Linked DNA regions of Homo sapiens: all the other regions are linked to region 1. Evidence: promoter capture Hi-C in 16 types of primary human blood cells and fetal thymus (Javierre and others, 2016). All regions are on one chromosome and are shown on one strand. The core of a region is centred on a gene start or on the middle of the fragment in contact, and the rest is flanking DNA. Distances in the headings are between cores, read along the strand shown.

Region 1 (4,101 bases), core at 1,356-3,855:
AATGGAGCGATCTCGGCTCACCGCAACCTCTGCCTCCCGGATTCAAGCGATTCTCCTGCCTCAGCCTCCCAAGTAGCTGGAATTACAGGCATGTGCCACCATGCCCGGCTAATTTTGTATTTTTAGTAGAGATGGGGTTTCTCCATGTTGGTCAGGCTGGTCTTGAACTCCCGACCTCAGGTGATCCGTCCGCCTTGGCCTCCCAAAGTGCTGGGATTACAGGTGTGAGCCACTGCACCCGGCCATATCCTGCATATTCTTTAAACAAATTTACATTGTTGACTTCTCTCACCTTCCAAACCATTCCTTTTTGCAGGCATCCAAAGACTAACTCCCCAGATTTTTTTTCTTAATTTATTGGTTTCCCCTCCTCGGTCTCCTTGAAGGTTCTTCATTCTCAACCCATCCTTTGGATGTTCAACCCCAAACCTAGGCTTTTCTCTCACTATATACTTTCTCTAAGCAATGTCATTTATTTCTATGTCTTTGATTATTATCTCTCTACTTAAGTGCACACATATATTAATCTACCTATAGAAAATGAAGCACCAGCTCTGTTCTGCACTGTTAACAGAGGTAAATACCTGGAAACAAAGTAAATGTAAACATGTAAAAAAAAAATTAGTGAAGTACAGTGCATCCATATAATGCAATATATGCAGTTACCTTCCTATGGACCAAAATCAACATGGCAGATTGTTTTTAAATGGCTAATTTACAAAACTCTTCCCCATTCTGATCTTCTTCAAAAGACAGCCTGAGTTAGAGAATAACAGAAAAACATTACATTCCTTTTCAATCGGTTTGCCGTCACTAATGATTCAATGGACAATTATTCCAGAGGTAGATGAAAATGGACCATAGAGGAGTCAATATGCATATGGGAAAAGCTAACCAATCACTGCCAGAGTCTGATTATTTCATAAAACCTTACATACTATTCTAACCCTCCTCTCCACCATCATCTACATTTAATCCTCACCAAGTCCTGTCTACTATTCTTCCTAAACATTTTTTAAATGTTTCTACTTCTCGTCCCCAGGGTCACCATCCCAATTTTGGCCACCATCATGTTGAACATTTCCCTGTATCCACTCTTGCCCTCTCTAAGAAGTGTACTTTTTAAAACCAAAATTTAGCACTCCACTATGTAAAATGCTCCAATGGCGTCCCATCACCCTTAGCAATAAAGTCAAAACTCCTTACAGTGCCTTATAAGGCACTCCGTGTTGGGCCTGAATAACTCTCCTGCCTTATCTGTTACCAGTTTTCCTCTCACACTTTATTTTCCAACCTTACTGACCTTTCAATTACAAACTGCACAAATGCTATTCCCTTGCCAGGTACACTCCTTTTCCTCCTCCTGGCCCCACCCCAGTGCTCACACCTGGCTTATTCCAACTCTTCAGGTCTCAGATAAATCATTTTCTTAAGAGATTATCCCTGCCCCCTCCCCATTACATGACCCCCATACTTTCTCTGTTACATACCATCACTTATTTCATGTCTGCATTTCCCACTAGATCAAAAGGTCTCTGAGGGTTTGTCTTCAATACTGTACACCCAGTGACTAGCAAAAATCCGGCATCAAGAAGGTATTCAATAAATACTTGTTGAAAAATAAAGACTAATAAAGAAATAACTACATTTAACAACAATAGTCACCATTGGACACTTACTAATGCCTAAAGAGAATACAGAACTTAGCTATATCCCACAACTAATAACTAGTAGAACTAAGGGAGAGTCCATGAATGTTTGGTTTCTATTTCAGCTTTCCACCAGTCTTTACTTAATTCACCCAAATTCTTCCAAACCAATTCTCTCTCCATGTCCTACCTCTAGGGAATGGCTTGAGGCATACCGTATCACTTGCATTATCTTTCACTCAGAAACTCTGTCCCATCTAGAAGTGTCAAGGCTGAAAGAACTACACTGAAAAAACAGGGAATTTCAGTGCTTCAGTTCTGAATTACTGATAACTCTTTGAGCCATCTCATACGAGGAAAATGTCATCTAGAATATCAAACTCCTCAGCACTAGAGCAGCAACAGCAATTTCTCTCCCTTTCGGCCTCCTTCTAGCGAGATGTGGGAGGTCCGACAAGGAGCTTGGCTGTTCTCCACCATCCTCTGCCTCGGAGAACGCGACCACAACGTGGCGCCCAGTTGAGGGGGAACCCTTGCGAAATACGGAGAGGCGCTCCCACACCCTCCAATCTCCAACCACCACTGTCAACTCCTCCAGAGGCAGGTATCCTACCCCGGCCCTGGGAGGCCGACTGGGCGGAGCTTGGGGTCCGGACCACGCGGAGCCCTGGCAGTGTCTATGCCTAGATCTCGCCGCCCTGCCGTCCACCCATTTCTCCCTACCTGACTCGGCCGTCGCCACCAACGCGCTCTCCCAACCCTCGGAGTCAGTTCCAAAACCAAACCAAAAAGGAGGAGAGCAGACAAGGCTTCAGCCTGCGACTGAGAACAGGGAGGCGGCACGCCTTGGGGAACGAGGGCCCGAGGCCATACGCGCTAATACAGGCCAGTGTCGGCGTAAACTTTCTCCGTTACCGGCCCGGCCGCGACCGCCATGTTTCCGCCGCCGAAATCCGCGACGGTACGGAACGCCGCCGGGGTCAAACTGCGCGGCGCGCCTCCTTCCCGAGGCCCGGCCCCCTCCCCGCCCAAACCCGCGCGCCGCCACACACTCAGGTGAGCAAGGCGCTGCGCGAGTGTCAACTGCCCCACCTAAGGCGCCTGCCTTCCTCAAGCCAAAGTCGACTCCTGGGACCTGGAATCAGCAGCTGAGAACAGACAGCGGGAAGACCACCAAAGATCAGGCTGACAGTGCCCATCAAGCATCTAGGCCACCGCCTCGGGCTGGACCGAACGGGGACAGGGTGGACAGGACTGCCACGCGTGGGCTGTAAATACTGCGGGAGGCGTTGCTGCTCATTAATATATATGGCATAATATATGGCTTTGTAACCAGCTAAGGCCCAAGCTCCTTAGGCCCTCCCTCAGACCTTTCAGTTCCTCAAATGCAGGGACATGTCGGGTTTTGCTCAACATTAAATCACCTTAGCATAGTGCCTGACACATAGTTGGCACTTAAATATTTGTAAAATAATAATATGCAATAGGCTCTCCACGATCCGTAGTTCTCTCCTCCCACTTGTTTTGCATGTATTATCTATATATTTTTCCTATTTTCCATAATAGAGTGTGAATTTCCTAATTTTCATAATAGATGTTGGGGGTTGGTGTGGCCAGCACATCTATAGGAATGAACAACTCTCAGATTGAGATTCTGCATATGTGGATGAAAATTTTGAGTTAGATTCTCTCTAGACTCCTGATTTTAAAAGCAATCACAACTCAACTTCCCAAATCTGTAACTAGCTCTCTGGGGAACACGAGTGCCACATTTCCAACTACCTGCTAGATGTTTCTACTCAAATATATTGTCATCACTTCCAACTCAACTTGCCTTTAATGGACATTTATATACATTTATTATGCCCCCCATTTGAATCCCCTTCCGTATTTGGAGAATTCCCCACCTGAGTTAAGAGTCTAATGGCTGCCGCTGAAATGCTGAACACTTGTTTAACTAATCATGTGTACCCGCTGGAAGCCATGAGTCAAAAAAGGCACAGAAAGCTACACTCCCAGGTCACCTGTAGGAGTATAGCAAGTGTAGAGATCGAGAACCCATCCCTAACAGCAAGGTAAGCTTCCGAGGCAGTAGTGAGAGTGCTGGCATCCACCATTAACATGTCAGAGATGCAAGATGCCTGTGCTTGGTGAGGGTCACAACCCCAGAGCCCTTTCCCAATCTGTTCTGTAGCCTGTTAACAGTCTCTGTGTACATTTCTGGGTAGCCTGTGACAGACTCTGTACTACATAGCTGTGAGGCAGGACAATAGGGTCTGGAGGCAAGGAACTTACGGCTGATTCATGCTGACTTTCTAGAACTAAATCAAAAGGAAAGCCCCAACTTTCCACAGCTAAGTAACAAAGGGACCCGGCCCCCTCCCCCACCACCGCCCTTTTCTGCGTGGCAGACGGAAAATTGAAAGTACCTCGGATTGGTTGCTTTCCATAA
Region 2 (4,019 bases), core at 1,440-3,939, 4.2 Mb before region 1:
ACAGCTGTCCCCTCCACTGTACACTGGATCACATCACTCAGGGCTTTCAAGGGCACTGCTCCAGAGATTATTTCCCTCTCCCGTCTCCCTTCTTCTCCTATGTTACTTTTTTTTTCTTTCCATTCAATAATTCCCCAGCAAACAAACCTGTTGCTATTTCTGTCAACAAATTTTTCTTTGGACCCCACTTATTCAACCAATTGTGGTCTCATTTCTTTGCTCTCTTTTGTAGCAAAACTTTTCCTAAGAGTTTTCAATCCCACCATGCCACCAAAACTTCCCTTGTCAGGGTTATCAATGAGCTGCACATTGTGAAAGCAATGTCAGATAACGAATAAATCTGTCATTTCTCTGACTTAATCTTACATACACTTCAACACTTTCCTCCTTGATAGTCTTTCTTTACTTATGTCCCAGAACACTGATCTCTGGGTTTTTCTTTCCTCCATTGGTTGCTTTTTCTCGGTGTCTTTTGTTGATTCCTCTTCCTCTCCTTTGCATCTTCTCAGTTCTGATTCTTTCTGTCCTCTCTCCCCTCCAGTTCTTTCTTATCTCCTCCTTTTCCCTCTTCTCCTTTTTGAGTCTCTTCCCCTTCCCCGTCCCCATTCCCTTTCCTTTCCTTTCCTTTCCTTTCCTTCCTCTTCTCCTTTCATCACTTCCATTCTCTTCTACTCCTGGTTATACTCGTTCCTTTGGTGAACTCTTTCATCCCATAGTTTTAACCATCAACATGCCTGCCACTTCCAAATTTTTATCTCTAGCCAAGATTCATATATTAAAAACTGCAGATTCATATATCCAACTGTCCACTTAACATGTCTAATGTGGTATTGTGGATATTCCAACTCTGACCTGCTCCAGCTCAGCTGATTGTAAAGCCATCCTTCCAGTTGTTTAGGTTAAAACCCCAGAGTGATTCTTGATTTCTTTCATGCTCTTAGCACTCACACTCCATAGGCAATCCCACTGGCTTTGCCTTCAATGTATTTTCAGTATCTGACAGCTTCCTTTCAACTCCAATGTTAGTACCAGCATCATCTTTCATAGGGATTATTAGGTAAAAGAAAGTTTTCATTCTCTACCCCTTATTAGTCTGTTATCAAGCCAACAATGAGAGTTATTCTTTTTAAAGGTACATAAGAACTTGTTATCTTTCTGCCTAAAGCCTTCCATTTACTCCCTCCCCATTCCCAGTAAGAGCTAAATCATTTACAATAGTCTATGAAGTCCTACACAATCAGCTTACCTTCCCTTTACCTCACTGATTTTATCTTTGACTGCTTTTCCCCTTTGTATTAGCCAGGGTTCTCTAGAGCAACAGAACTAATAGGGTATATATTATAAATAAGGGGATTATTAAGGAGAATTGACTCACATGATCACAAGGTGAAGTCCCATGATAGTCTGTCTGCAAGGTGAGGAGCAAGGAAGCCAGTGGTGGATCAATCTGTGGCCAAAGGCTCGAGAACCCCTGGCAAACCACTGGTATAAGTCCAAGACTCTTAAAGCTCAAGAACTTGGAGTCTTATGTTCCAGGGCAGGAAGCATCCAGCACAGGAGAAAGATGAAGGCCAGAAGACTCAGCAAGTCTACTCTTCTGTCTTCTCCTGCCTGCTTTATTCTAGCTGCACTGGCAGCTGATTAGATGGTGCCCACCCAGATTGAGGATGGGTCTGCCTCTCCCAGTCCACTGACTCAAATGTTAATCTCCTTTGGCAACACCCTCACAGAACATCCAGGAACAATACTTTGCATCCTTTAATCCAGTCAAGTTGACACTCAATATTAACCATCACACCCTTCTTCATTCTGTACTAGCCAGACAGGAATCCTCACTCTTCCAGGAACACGCCAGGCTTGCTTTCTCTTTAGGGCCTTTGCACTAGCTGGTTCCTCTGTTTGGAGCATTCTTGATTATACAGCCAATCCCTTCAGCTTCTTCCAGTCTTGGCTCACCTGTCACCTCTTCAATGGGGCCTTTCTGGCCACCCTATTTAATACCACACTGTGTCCCTCCTCCCTCACACTCTCCATCCCTTTATCTTACTCTGTTTTTATTTTCACACAGCACTTATCACCTTATTTCATTACTTATTATGTTATTATCTGTTTCCTCCTGATAGAATATAAGCTACTTGGAGGTAGGGATCTTCCACTGCTGTGTCTCAAGTGCCTATATCTGTGACTGGTATAGGGTAAATTTTCCATAACTATTTAGTGAATAAGTAAATTCGACGTCATATGTGTATATCTCATAATTTGATTTTCTGAAAAGTTACAAAATCCTTTACTTATATGATAAACTAGACTCATCTGCATTGGGACATCTTCCTTATACCAAATAAATGATATCTGTTAATAAAGATATTGGGATACAGGTTTAGTCATCCACAAATTTTTTTTAAATTTTTTTTTAAATTTTTTTTTTTTTTTTTTTTTGAGATGGAGTCTCGCACTATAGCCCAGGCTGGAATGCAATGATGTGATCTTGGCTCACTGCAACCTCCACCTCCTGGGTTCAAGTGATTCTCCCGCCTCAGCCTCCTGAGTAGCTGGGATTACAGGTGTGCACCACCACACCTGGGTAATTTTTGTGTTTTTAGTAGAGACAGGGTTTCACCATGTTGGCCAGGCTGGTCTCGAACTCCTGGCCTCAGGTGATCCACCCGCCTTGGCCTCCCAAAGTGCTGGGATTACAGGCGTGAGCCACCGTGCCCACCTCACAATATGTTTTTTTAATCCCAAATGATAACATCTCTTTTTCTATAACTTTTCTATCATTATTTTTCTTCCAGATATTTTAGTGTGAGAAAATAATTTTCTGTTCAAATGCCATTGTCCAAACTGTCAGAGATACTATCTTATAAGGAATTATTATTGGAAGGAAACAAAATCAGTTTATATATCAATACTGGTGGATCTTGAGATACTTAGAAAACTAGGTCACATCCCCTCAGTTATGAGATCAGAGGGGAACTTAAAAGAAAGAAGACTTTTACCTTGTTAGAAAGTTAAAATCAAGTGTGAACTCTTTTTATGTAGACATCTTCTGTGTGAGTTTATTTTTTAAGGACTTTTATTTATCTTTTTTTTTTTTTTAAGAGACAGGGTCAGCCAGGCAGTGGCATGATCACGATCATAGCTCACTGCAATCTTGAACTCCTGGGTTCAAGCCATCCTCCAGCCTCAGCCTGGACTGCAAGGCATATGCCACCACACTTGGCTAATTTTTTAATTTTTATGTTCTTTTTTTTTTTTTTTTTGTAGAGACAGAGTCTCACTATGTTGCCCAGGCTGGTCTTGAATTCCTGGCCTCAAGTAACCCTTGCATCTCCACCTCCCAGAGTGCTGGGATTACAGGCATGAGCCATCATGCCCAGCTGAGGACCTTTAAAAGAGCAACTCCTCCCTGTCTCAATTCCTCTGAGCTGCTTGTATTGGCACAGTGACATGCAATTGAAATTTCATTTTCAAGCCATAATAAATGGTATACTGAAAATTTCCCCTATTTGTTAGTTACAAACAAAACAATTCTGTCTTTTCCTCCACTTCTAGAATATTTTCAAATTGGTCATATAGGAGGTCAAAAGAAATCTCTATGAATTCATGTTTGACAATCTATAAAGTATGTTTCAGCTGGGACTGCTAACAGAAAAGACTGATGTGAACCTGATATCACCAATGGCTACTTTATGGGACCTGAAAAGAGCTTCATAGAGGATTTCAGAGCCATTTAGCCCTAGGTCCAGCTGTGCCTGAAACCATCTTTCCTTGAACACTTCAGTTATATGAGACAAAAAAGTCTCCTTTTCACTTAAGCCAATTTGAATTGAATTCTAGCACTTGCCACTCACATGGACATTTTATCAAGTGTCAAGGGCAACAAGGAGTTACACTGAGTTCCCCCAGAGAAGGAAGGAGAAAGATAGAAGCACAAGGGAAGCTAATGTTTAGATCACAAGATAGAAACTGCTGCCCAGGAGGAGAGAAAAAACCCCTGAGGTTGGAAGAACGCAGGG
Region 3 (3,647 bases), core at 812-3,311, 4.3 Mb before region 1:
CCTTAGCATTACTAATGGTTGTTCAACTAATTGTCATGTGTGTCTTGATATGATGCATTATGAGGCACATGACATTACCTACAATGTGCTCTAACAACAAAATGTTTAACTCAATCAAGCCATTATATTTAAATTCCAGTGTTCAGGAAATGAAAAGGAAAGAGGAACACTTCAAATAACACTGAGAAGGAAGAAGGCAGGTACATCCAGAAAGCGAGTCTTTCTGCCTGTTAACCAGCCTAATGTCTTCAATTAAATCAGTTTTAAAGGTGCAGGTGAAGAAGGTGTGGCTGAAGGACTGCGTTATATTTTAAGTGACTTGGAGAAATAGTCAGATGCAATGTGTGATCTAGACTGAACCCTCATTTGGATCTAATCAGTTACATAAATAACATTTTCAAACTGGGTACAGGATAAAGGGACATTTACTGATATAGAAAGGTATACATTATATGCTAAAAAACCAGATTATAAAACAACATATACAGAATGAGTTTATTTTGGTATATATGTGCATAGAATGATTTCTGAAGGAATACTGTGCAGACATTACTAATGTTCACCAATACACTGTTTGCTTCCCCTTCCAAGCATACAGAAGGTTGTACTTTTCAGGCCCATGCAATCGGACAGGATAAACAGATTGTGAGTAGAAGAAACCCGTGGCAACTTCTGCTGAAATATTATTTCCTTGCCACAGAAATCAGAGAGGAAGACTCAATTAAAATACAGACAACAGGACAGGATCTAAGTAACCACCACACGGAGGTTCACTGTGCCAAAGAGTCACCCAAACCCACAGTTAACTTTGCATGAGCCAGAAATAAAACTGTTTTGTTAAGTCACTGAGATTTCGGTGTTGTTTGCTATTAGAGCTTAAGGAAGCTTAATCCAATGAACACAAATAAACTCTAATACATTACAGTGGTAATCTGAGGGTAAAATATATTATTTTTATTTTCTTATCTTTTCTTTCTTCTAATTCCCTACAATGCTTTGTGCTGCCTTCTTTCTAAACAGTCAAAGTTCTTCTTTTTAATTAAAAAACATAATGAAAGGAGACCACCTTCATCACAGTGAAAAAATTATCACAGACAATTCCCTAAATGTGGCTGCCATAAATGTAGCATACAAAATAAGTAACTCATTTTTTTTTAGGGCATTACGTATCAGACATAATTCCCTGTATTTAGCTACCTTAAATATGGTAGACACATAAAAAAGTAAAATTGATACAGATGTTTTATAAAAATTCTATCATTTTTAAAAAGCTCAACTCTTGATAATAACAAAAAGTTTAGCTGGAAAAGTTCACACTAGAGTGTACATGCTGACACGTTATATGCAATTTGTCCAGTTCACTGTTTTTCAGATGATTATTTAAGGGAAGGGTGACAACTTTTTTCAGACTACCTAGATTTTTATTCATAATTGATCTGAATATATATTCCTATATTACATTTTTTCATAGTATTGAAAGGTCCTTAGATTTGGGATTAGTTATGCAAGATAAAAGAGTCCTCAGAGTTTCAATTAGCAAGACTATTTAAACTGCAACTGAAAACTACTCAGAAATCCATCAGTAGTACAACTGGCCTTGTAAAAGAGGTTGAAGTGAGCCACCTTGCCCCTTCTGCCATCTAAGTAGGTCATGAGAAGCTGCTGTCTAGGAGGAACGGGACTCTCACCAGACATCAAATTGTTGGTGCCTTGATTTTGGACTGCCCAGCCTCCAGAACTATGAGAAATAAATTTCTGTTGTTTATAAATTACCCAAGCTAAGGTATTTTATTATGACAGCCCAAATGGACTAAGCCAGTATGTAATTCTATTTAAGATCTTTGCTTTCAGTATATCACTGAAATGTGAAATATACTTAAAAGCATATGTATATTTGAGAATCTTATCTTTTATGTAAGATTATATAAATATAAAATATAATCCCAAATTATAGGACCATAAAATAGTGAAGCTACCTATAATAATGTATGTGTTATACAATACACAAGTAAGGATGGGTACATTATTCAAAGACAATTTTTCAACAAGGTAATTGTTAAAAAGTAGAATAAATGTGTTCTAAGTTAAAACAATTTTCTGAATGCCAAGCTAAAAATAAGCACTAATAGATTTCTAATGAAATGTAAGCAGTATCTATCATTATGATATTTTCAAATTTTTCATTAAATATTACAAATAATCTTAATAATATAGATGTAAAGAGACTCAATCACATTAGTCATATTTTATAGCACTTCTCTGAAAACAGTCCATTTAAGTGGGTCTAAATTATCTTCATTATTTTATAGTTGAAAAAACTGAGGCAAAGAAAAGCTCATTGTTTTACTTAATATGATTACTAATTCAATTATGAGTAAGGTCATTCAAATTTTTAGACTTTCAAATACGAAAGGACCATGAAATAAAAACAACAGCCTCACATATGAATTATGTCTCCTATCTTAAAAGAACAGTTACATAGTATAAATATTTACATTGCACTAAAGAAAAATCTGGCAGCTGTTAGGCAATTCAACTAATAAACTGATTATTTTCTATTTTATAAATGTTTAATTTCAAAGTATACATATTGGTGCTAACAAAATAAAATGAATTGATTAGCATAATGTATGTCACAAAATAAATAGGGTAATTACTGAATACACATCACATGTATAATAAAAACCACAAAATTCAAATGGAAAAATGAAAGGCTTTGCCTTCTCCATTTTAGATTTTTTTTAGTACTTCTATTCCAAGACAAAACTAGATTAAATAAATTAGAAATTACCTTGACAGCCACTCCTTTTCCTTCAGGAAATTCTAGAAGATGAAAAGTCAGTTCTTCAACCCTAGTAATGCAGAGCTTTGGGTCAGTTGTTCTTCTTAATGCCTGAACTAATGCCCGGGTCCTGTTATCAATACTCACCCTTGCGATAATCTACAAAGACATATTAAATAGATATGATTAGAATACAAAACTGCTCTAAAGAACAATGAAAGTTTCTTAGTTCTCATTAGGAAATAAAACTTATAAATTTGACAAAAAGTAATAGAACCGAAAAGCACACTGAACAACTTGCCTTTTCTCGCTGAAGAGATAAACGCTTTTTCTCCTCTGCATTTCTGTCTTTGCTGACAGCCTGATCAGTTTTAGCAGGCTCTTCCTGTTCTTCTGACTGACTCTTTGAATCATACTTTAATTTGGGGACAAGTCCACCAATATAACCACCTACTAAAGCTTGTACACCTTCCGTGGGACGAGAAAGAAAGTTAGCAATACTTTGTTTAGTTGAAACTTGAAGAACATCAGGTATCGCAGAAGGACTTGTAGGCTTGTCCACCGTATGTACAGATTCTGAGCCTGGCTTATAAGCCAGGATGCCAGGATCTGGAGATCTTAATTTCCCCTCTTCTACCTTTTTATCTTCAAGTTCTGATTTGTCCCGGAAATGTTCATTTTCCTTTTGTTGAGACATTTTTTCCTTACGTTTGAAATATGAATTAATATGATTTGATAAAAAGTAGAATGAGTCTCCAAATTTTGTGGTTATAGAACTTGTGTAATGAAAAAGACTGCGTTTACCTATATCTTCTTCTTTGTCTATAATGTGACTTTTCTCTTCTGGAAAAGGACTCTTTTCTGC

Evidence for each region. The method cuts DNA at HindIII sites, captures the fragments that hold promoters and counts their contacts. A CHiCAGO score of 5 or more calls a contact.
Region 2: a contact is called between a fragment that was not itself captured here and the fragment with the promoter of TMEM168 in region 1, in 2 of 17 cell types (activated CD4 T cells and total CD4 T cells). The highest score is 5.7, in activated CD4 T cells.
Region 3: a fragment that was not itself captured here is called in contact with the fragment with the promoter of TMEM168 in region 1 in 1 of 17 cell types (total B cells); the score reaches 7.6 in total B cells.

Annotation. Positions count from the first base shown.
Region 1 is chr7:112,787,788-112,791,888 of GRCh38, forward strand. It overlaps TMEM168 (transmembrane protein 168), which reads right to left and starts at 2,606. Exons shown (of 5, transcript NM_022484.6): 1 at 2,373-2,606. RefSeq lists an enhancer at 2,865-2,994. The HindIII fragment of the contact is 5,754 bases long and covers 1-3,727 here.
Region 2 is chr7:108,586,026-108,590,044 of GRCh38, forward strand. No RefSeq gene overlaps it. Among named protein-coding and RNA genes, the nearest start is that of DNAJB9, 18 kb to the left of the region's middle. The HindIII fragment of the contact is 6,518 bases long and covers 1-4,019 here.
Region 3 is chr7:108,511,353-108,514,999 of GRCh38, forward strand. PNPLA8 (patatin like domain 8, phospholipase A2) reads right to left here. Exons shown (of 11, transcript NM_001256007.3): 3 at 3,084-3,647; 4 at 2,792-2,941. Among named protein-coding and RNA genes, the nearest start is that of PNPLA8, 13 kb to the right of the region's middle. The HindIII fragment of the contact is 2,356 bases long and covers 884-3,239 here.